2 separate regions of the Homo sapiens genome follow, and region 2 is linked to region 1. Evidence: promoter capture Hi-C in 16 types of primary human blood cells and fetal thymus (Javierre and others, 2016). All regions are on one chromosome and are shown on one strand. Each heading gives the region's core, a stretch centred on a gene start or on the middle of the fragment in contact. The rest is flanking DNA. Distances are from core to core; before and after follow the strand shown. Region 1 holds the start of PDHA1 (pyruvate dehydrogenase E1 subunit alpha 1). Region 2 overlaps PHKA2 (phosphorylase kinase regulatory subunit alpha 2).

Region 1 (4,408 bases), core at 1,641-4,140:
GTAATCCCAGCACTTTGGGAGGCCAAGGTGGGCAGATCACCTGAGGTCAGGAGTTTGAGACCAGCCTGGCCAACATGGTGAAACCCCGTCTCTACTAAAAAAATACAAAATTAGTCGGGCATGGTGGTGCTCGCCCGTTTTCCCAGCTACTCGGGAGGCTGAATGAGGAGTATCACTTGAACCTGGGAGTCAGATGTTGCAGTGAGCCAAGATGTCACCACTGTACTCCATCCTGGGCAACAGAGTGAGAATCTGTCTCAAAAAAAAAAAAAAAAAAAAGAGGCCGGGCGCAGTGTCTCATGCCTATAATCCCAGCACTTTGGGAGGCTGAGACGGGCGGATCACGAGGTCAGGAGATCAAGACCATACTGTCTAACATGGTGAAACCCTGTCTCTACGAAAAATACAAAAAAAATTAACCGGGCGTGGTGGCGGGCACCTGTAGTCCCAGCTACTCGGGAGGCTGAGGCAGGAGAATGGCGTGAACCTGGGAGGCGGAGCTTGCAGTGAGTTGAAATTGCACCACTACACTCCAGCCTGGGCGACAGAGCGAGACTCTGTCTCAAAAAAATAAATAAATAAAATATATATATATACACGTATGTGTGTATATATATGTATATATATGAAGAACAAGAAGTGCAGAGAAAATATCCTAGTCATTGAAAAATTGGTTACTTTGTTTCTGCACTGCAAAGTTACTTTAAACTTTGTAATGAATCTAGTGGAGAGATCATTTGAGATGAGGCAAATGTCCTGTTTCTCATCATACATTTACCCACTAATTTTAGCCTGTATTGATGATAATTCTCACCTGCAACAGTTACTGTGGTCTTTGCCAAATGGTGATTTTCTTTTTCTATTTTCATCATTCCTTCTATATTAATTAATTGGAATTCTACTGTAAGGAAAAGTTGTTCCTTCTAACCCATTGATTTGTTCAATCATGTATTTAAGTAGGACCTATATTTTACTTGTTCCTTGCTATATCTTCAGTGTGTAGTACAGTGTCTGACACAAAATCGGTGCTCAATAATAGGTGTTGGATGAATGAGCAAATGAATGAATGAATTCATATTCATATGGCCTACAGAGTTCCCGTACATGCACAACCAATATCACCACCCCGTGGAGATGACTCCCAAATTAATATTTTTAGCAAATGTTCCAGACTTACAACTCCAACTTCCCGGGGGACATCTTCAGATAGCTGTGCCACTGCCACCACCAGGTCAACATGTCCCAAACCATTCAGACCAGCTTTTTCTCCTGAGCTGGACATCTGGCCTCCAACCTTTTCATTCTCTTTTACCTTTCATATTCTATCAGCAGCAGCAGCTGCTGAAATCATACCATGCAAGTTTCTCACGTCCATCTCTGCCTTTTAATGGCGCCCTCTCACTCCTTTAAGAAGTTTTCTTCCACTGCAACACGATCTCTCAGTCCAGAGTCTGGCCCAGTGCCCAAATTATTTCTCTAGCTATGCTGAGAGCTGGTCATGCTTTGAACTTCTGCTTTGAATACTTTCAGTGACACTGGGAGAGAATTATCTCATTGGACCATTGTCATTGTTAGAAAATTCATTGTTATGCTGAAATGAAATGATTTTATTCACACACACACACACACACACACAAAATAGCTCTTCCTCCTGGAACATGACTGGCCTGAAAATGTGTGAAGACATATCCAATCCTCTCTGGTTTTACTGTTCATCCAATTTTCTGTTCTCCTCCTGGCAGGAGGATTATATTTCACCTTGTGGAACTCAGACATGGTCGGGTAACTAGCTCTGGTCCGTGAAAATTGAGAGGAAGTGACATGTGTCACTTCTGGGCAGAAGCTTTGAGAGCCGGTTTAAATGATCCCTTTTCTCTTCATCCATGAGACAAGCTAAGTTCCAGAGAGAGGGTGCCACGCTGTGAGGGACCTGTGTTACGAGTACGATGGCTCGCGTCACTTCAAATTCTTGAAATCACTGAAATTTGGAGGTCAGTTGTTACATCATAACCCAGCCAATTCTAGTTAGCCTGTTTTCTTCCTAACTTCTTTAATCGTTCTTCATAAGTCACAATCGCAGCCCCTCACCGTTCTGACCACTGTCCCCTGGATTCCACTCAGTTTACTCATTATCCCCCTTAAAATGTGGAGCCCAAATCTGAACCCGGAACCCCAGGTGCAATCCCACTAGGACACAACACAATGGGTTCCTGAGCCCTTTGATCCTCTGAATAGAGCCCCTTGTTGCTTTGGTGTTTTGTCTCTGTGTGTGCTTTTATCATCGGCTGAGCCACGCTGTTAACTCGCAGTGAGCCTGTGAACCAATAACTAGAGAAAAAAGATTTTTCCCATTGTCCTCTCGACATATATTGGGAAACAAATTTTTTGATCCGCGTTCAAGTAGACAGGGCAGAACTGTCCAACTGCTACGTGATCTTTTAAAGACAAAGTTAGTGGCAGACCATTTACAGAAACCAGATGTTCTGTCTTTTGGCTCTGAGCATGCTGCTAATCTTCATCATCTAGTGTACTGAACGAGATGTACTGAACGAGGGCTGCAGAGCTGCAGCACCGGCAGGAGTAGGCGCTCGGTAGGACGGGGCCTGCACAACCTCCCCGGTAGTCAGCAGAGCGGAATCTAGGAAGGCTCCTTTCCCGCGGCGCCCTGGAGGCGGGGGCCCCACCTTCCCACGCAGGCGCTATCAAGCCCCGCCTCCTCACCCGCCCGCGGCGTGGCGTCGGAAAGAGCCCTCAGCCCCTCCCTCTCTGGCGCTGATACCCAATGGGCAGCCTCAGGCCTTTAGCGGGGGCGGGGCACCCCCTGGACGCCGTTCTGGTTGGCCCGCGGCCCGGCGCAGCGCATGACGTTATTACGACTCTGTCACGCCGCGGTGCGACTGAGGCGTGGCGTCTGCTGGGGCACCTGAAGGAGACTTGGGGGCACCCGCGTCGTGCCTCCTGGGTTGTGAGGAGTCGCCGCTGCCGCCACTGCCTGTGCTTCATGAGGAAGATGCTCGCCGCCGTCTCCCGCGTGCTGTCTGGCGCTTCTCAGAAGCCGGTGAGACCTCCCGGGCGGGCCGGGATGGGGCGCGAGTGGGGCTGAGGCGGGGCCGGAGGGCAGGGCGGGCCAGGCCGGGCCACCCAGAGCGGGGTGGAAGGCGCCAGGGGAGCCGGGGAGCCTTTACTTCGCCTCCGCGCCCTGCATTCCGTTCCTGGCCTCGGGAGAAGCGGCACGGACCGGGATCACGCCAAGGTCCGTGTGAACTTCCCCCTTCTCGACACCCACCTCCCGCCCCCGGGCCCAGCTGTGCGCCAGGCGAAGTCGGTGTGCTCAAGAGGTGCCTGTTGGGTTACAGGACACGGAAAGGGTGGCCTCGGCCTCCTTCGAGTCTCCAATTGACCCCACTCATTTCGGATCTTCTAACTTAATTTCTCTTGACCGAGAGGCTTTGTAATAGCGTAGAATCTGGAGACAGGGTGGCTTCGTTCAAACAGCACCCTCACCATTGACTAGCCCTGTGACCTTGAGCAAGTTTTTAAACGTCCCGGGGACCCGGTTTCCTAAAATGTTTGCTCGAAGTGGAGTTAATCTCTAAATGGAGATAAGAGTTATCTCTGAAATGTTATCAGTTAACTCTAAAATGGAGATAATAAGAGTCCCCACCTCTTGGGGTTGTCTTGAGGATTCAACGAGTGACACGTGTGGAAACGATTCCAAATAGCACCTGGCACATAATCGATAACATGTGTGTTGAATAGTGTTATTTATTGAGTCTCCAGTTCGGTATACATTTCTTGAACACCTGTGCTCAGTTCTGAGGCGGGTTCACAGAAGGTCAGCCTCTTCAGAAACAAACTTCCTCCTCTTCCCTCTCCCTCAACATCTGAGCTTTTCTTGGCAGTGAGTTCAGGAGCGCCGAAGCAGAACTCAGAGGACGCTGCCCTCCCCTCCCCTTACCTACACATTCTTAGGGTACAAGTAGCTAAAGCAAAGAGCAACGATGCTTGAGGGGTGGGGGGTAGAGTTTAGCACTATTTCATGGCCTCAGCATTTAGAGGTGCCTAACACCTGAGCTAGCATTCTGACCCCCCTAGGCACAGTGAGGTCGTGTTAATTGGTGTAACTGCAGGCCTCGGGATTCTGGTATTTCCCCCAGGACTTGATACCGCTCTACTTAGTACAGGCAGAGATTGTCAAAAGGTAAGAGGTATGCCCCTCTAGGAATCCTGTTGCCTAAAATAATGACAAAACTGCCGGGTGCGGTGGCTCAGGCCTGTAATCCCAGCATTTTGGGAGGCTGAGGCAGGTGGATCACCTGAGGTCAGAAGTTCGAGATCAGCCTGGCCAACATGGTGAAACCCCGTCTCTACTAAAAATACAAAATTAGCCGGTCGTGGTGGCGGGCTC
Region 2 (4,408 bases), core at 1,288-3,787, 430 kb before region 1:
TCACCTGAGGTCGGGAGTTCAAGATCAGCCTGACAACATGGCGAAACCCCATCTCTACTAAAAATACAAAATTAGCCAGGTGTGGTGGCACATGCCTGTAATCCCAGCTACTCCGGAGGCTGAGGCGGGAGAATCGCTTGAACCTGGGAGGCGAAGATTATGGTGAGCTGAGATCATGCCATTGCACTCCAGCCTCGGCAACAAGAATGAAACTGTCTCAAAAAACAAAACAAAAACAATGAGCCGGGTGTGATGGTGCATGCCTGTAGTCCCAGCTACTGGAGGGCTGAGGCAGAAGGATCGCTTGAGCTCAGGAGACTGAGGCTGCAGTAAGCCCTGATCGTGGCACTGCACTTCAGCCTGGGTGACAGAGCAAGACCCTGTCAAAAAAAAAAAAAAAAAGAGAAATATGGTATATAAGATGAAAAATGGTTCACCTCTATAGGGCCCTTGCCATGAATGGAGCTTGCAGGACTGGAAGTTGCTCTGGGTGACTGGGTGAGTGGTGAGTGAATGTGAAGGCCTAGGACATGACTGTACACTGCTGTAGACTTCATAAATACTCTACATTCACACTGCACTGAATTCATCACACAGTGTTCTTTAATATTAAATGACCTTAGCTTACTGTAACTTTATAAACTTAAATTTTTAAAAATCTGACTTTTGTAATAACAGCTTAAAACACAGATCGTACAGCTGTACAAAAATATTTTCTTTCTTTTTTTTTTTTGAGATGGAGTCTCGCCTTGTTGCCCAGGCTGGACTGCAGTGGTGCGATCTCGGCTCACTGCAACCTCCACCTCCCTGGTTCAAGCGACTCTCCCACCTCAGCCTCCCGAGTAGCTGGGATTACAGGTGTGTGCCTCCACGCCCAGCTAATTTTTGTATTTTTAGTAGAGACAGGGTTTCACCATGTTAGCCAGGCTGGTCTTGAACTCCTGACCCACCCACCTGGGCCTCCTAAAGTGCTGGGATTACAGGCATGAGCCACCACAGCCGGCCCACAAAAATATTTTCTTTACGTCCTTATTCTATAAGCTTTGATCTATTTTTTAGTTTTATTTATTTTACTTTTTAAACTTTTTTTAAAAAATGAAAACACAAACACACACATTAGGCCTATGCAGGGCCAGGATCATCCATCACTGCTTCCACCTCCACAGCTTGTCCCACTGGAAGGTCTTCAGGGGCAGTAATGTACATGGAGCTGTCATCTCCTAAGATAACAATGCTTTCTCCTGTAATCCCTCTTGAAGAACTGGTCTGCGGCTGTTTCACAGTTAACGTTTTTTAATAAGTAAAAGGAGTACACTCTAAATACGCAAACCAGCAACATACTTATGTATTATCAAGTATTATGTACTATACATAATTGTATGTGCTAGACCTGTACACGACTGGCAGCGCAGGAGGTTTACTGATACTGGCATCGCCACAAACATGTGAGCAGTGCATGGTGCTACAAAGTCACTACAGCTACGATGTCACTAGGTGACAGAAAGGTTTCAGCTCCATTATAATCTTAGGGGACCACCGCCATATATGCGGTCTGCCATTGACCAAAAAGTTATGTGGTGCATAACTGTATATATTTTTTTTTAAAAGACAAATCCTTGAGAATGAAGAAAAACAAGAAAGAAGACGACAGGAACAGAATTTCAGAAGCGGGAAAGCTGACAGATGAAAGATAAGTGATTTAGCTGACACAAGGCAACCAATTCCCAAGTCTGCAGTGGAGAAATCCGAGAGCTGGTCAGTTACACCCAAGGCTCATCAGAAGTCCCTGGGGCCTGCTGCACTATGTGCTTCTGGAACTGGGGCCTAGAAGGGGTGTCCAAAACAAGGAAGGCTGGGGAGAAGCTATCTGAGAAGCAGTGAGCTCCCTGGACATCCGCTTCAACTACACCCAGCTTGATGACCACCTCACTCACTCTGACAGAAGACTGGAGGGTCTCTCAGAAGAGGGTAAAGGAGGAAGGGGCTCGAAGAGAGAGGGGCTGCTGATTAGCACATCTGAAGGCGTAGATACATTCCTTAAGGGAATTATAAGTAACTATATAGCTCCAGGCAACCAGGCCCTAATCCTTGAAATAGGAAATCCACTAGGAGATTGTAGAGTATCTCTGGGAAATCAAATAACTCCGAGTCAACAAGCCCCACCCATGGGCTTGGAGATTCTCATGCATGACCAGGTAAGCGAGGAGGAGCAGGGCATTTGAAGGAGGACGCTCATGTGGAAGACAGAAACCTAAGCAAACCGGAAAAGGTGACTTGGGGGAATGGAAACCATTCAAAGAGTAAAAAGGGTATATACAAACCAAAACAAAAAGCCCTGCCATTAATATTCTTAGAATAATAACAAATTGCCAGGTATGGTGGCTCATGCCTGTAATCCCAGCACTTTGGGAAGCCACGGCAGGCAGATCGTTTGAGGTCAGGAGTTTGAGACCAGCCTGGGCAACATGGTGAAACCCTGTCTCCACAGAAATAAAAATAAAAATTAGCTGGGTGTGGTGGCATGCACCTGTGGTCCCAGCTACTTGGGAGGTTGAGGTAGGGGGATCGCTTGGGCCTGGGAGGTGAAGGCTGCAGTGAGCCATGATCATGCCACTGCACTTCAGCCTGGGTGACAGAGCAGGACCTTTTCTTTCTCTCTTTCAGAAAAAGAAATTATACTGTATTTTTACTATTTTTTTGAGACAGGGTCTCGCTCTGTCACCCAGGCTGGAGTGCAGTGGCATGATCATGGCTCACTGCAGCCTCAACCTCCCGGACTCATGCGATCCTCCCACCTCAGCCTCCCAAGTACCTGGGATCACAGACATGCACCACCACGCCTGGCTAATCTTTTTTTTTTTTTTTTTTGTACAGACAGTGTCTTGCTACGTTGCCCAGGCTGGTCCAGAATTCTTGGGTTCAAGGAATCCGCCTGTCTTGGCCTCCCAATGTGCTGGGATTATAGGCATCAGCCACTGCGTCTGGCCAAGAAATTATATTGTAAACGTGAAACAAAAACAGACACAATTTGGGGAACAAAGATTTAAAACATGATAGCAAAAGTGGCTAAATTGAGGGGATGGAACAAAAAGTTGAGACAATGGCTTTCAGGACAAGACAGAAAAATGGAAAACAGAGGGAAAAAAATGATAAAGTCTTCTCTAGGAAGTCAACTTTGGAATCATAGGAACACCAGAAAGAAAGAACAGAGAAAATGTTGGGCAGGAAATGAGTCAAGAAACTTTTTAGGAAAACTTTACAGGACTGAAAAACAAATTTCCAGATTGGAAAGGCCCAGTGTGTATCCAACACAATGGATGAAAACACACCCAGATAGAGATTAAGGTGCAGCACTGAGATGTCAGAAGCCGGGAGCAGAGAAGATCCTAAACACTTTCAAAGAGAAAAACAGCTCATATTTGAAGTATCAAAAATCAGAATGAGCCGGGCACGGTGGCTCACGCCTGTAATCCCAGCACTTTGGGAGGCCCAAGAGGGCAGATTGCCTGAGGTCAGAAGTTCAAGACCAGCCTGGCCAACACGGTGAAACCCTGTCTCTACTAAAAATACAAAAATTAGCCGGATGTGATGGTGGGTGCCTGTAATCCCCGCTACTTGGGAGGCTGAGGCAGGAGAATCGCTTGAACCCAGGAGGCTCGCTTGAACCCAGGAGGCGGAGGTTGCAGTGAGCTGAGATCGAGCCACTGCACTCTGGCCTGGGCGACAGAGTGATACTCTTGTCTCAAACAATCAGAATGGGTTTAATTTCTGATATGGTTTGAATGTCTCACTCAAATCTCATGTTGAAATGTAATCCCCAGTGTTGGAGGTGGGGCCTGGTGGGAGGTGTTTGGATCATGGGGGTGGGTCCCTCATGAATGGCTTGGGCCATCCCCTTGGTGATAAGTGAGCTCTCACTCTGAGTTCACAAGGGATATGAGATCTGGTTGTTCAAAAGTGTGTGACCACTCTCTCTTGTTCCTACTGTCGCCATGTGAAGTGTCTGCTCCCCTTTTGTCTTCCGTCATGACTGGAAGCTTCCTGAGGCCTCCCTAGAAGCCAAGTAGATGCCAGCATCATGCTTCCTGTACAGCCGGCAGAACCCTGAGCCAATTAGACCTCTTTTCTTTATAAATTACCCAGTCTCAGGTATTTCTTTATGGCAATGCAAGAATGGGCTAATACATTTTTTTTTTTTTTTGAGACAGGTTCTCGTTCTGTTACTCAGGCTGGAGTGCAGTGGTGTGATCACAGCTCACTGCAACCTCAACCTCCCTGAGCTCAAGTGATCCTCCTGCCTCAGACTCCCAAGTAGCTGGGACTACAGGCATGTGCCACCATGCCTGGCTATTTTTTCTATTTTTTGTAGAGACAGGGCCTCACTATCTTGCCCAGGCTGGTCTCAAAT

What was found. Contacts are between HindIII fragments. The CHiCAGO score rates a contact against its expected background, and 5 or more counts as called.
Region 2: a contact is called between a fragment that was not itself captured here and the fragment with the promoter of PDHA1 in region 1, in 4 of 17 cell types (M0 macrophages, megakaryocytes, M2 macrophages and 1 more). The highest score is 5.6, in M0 macrophages.

The regions. Positions count from the first base shown.
Region 1 is chrX:19,341,037-19,345,444 of GRCh38, forward strand. It overlaps PDHA1 (pyruvate dehydrogenase E1 subunit alpha 1), which reads left to right and starts at 2,891. Exons shown (of 11, transcript NM_000284.4): 1 at 2,891-3,058. The coding sequence starts at 3,002. The HindIII fragment of the contact is 3,035 bases long and covers 1,842-4,408 here.
Region 2 is chrX:18,912,691-18,917,098 of GRCh38, forward strand. The region is part of intron 19 of PHKA2 (phosphorylase kinase regulatory subunit alpha 2); the gene reads right to left. It also overlaps the pseudogene RN7SL48P. Among named protein-coding and RNA genes, the nearest start is that of PHKA2-AS1, 25 kb to the left of the region's middle. The HindIII fragment of the contact is 2,996 bases long and covers 1,040-4,035 here.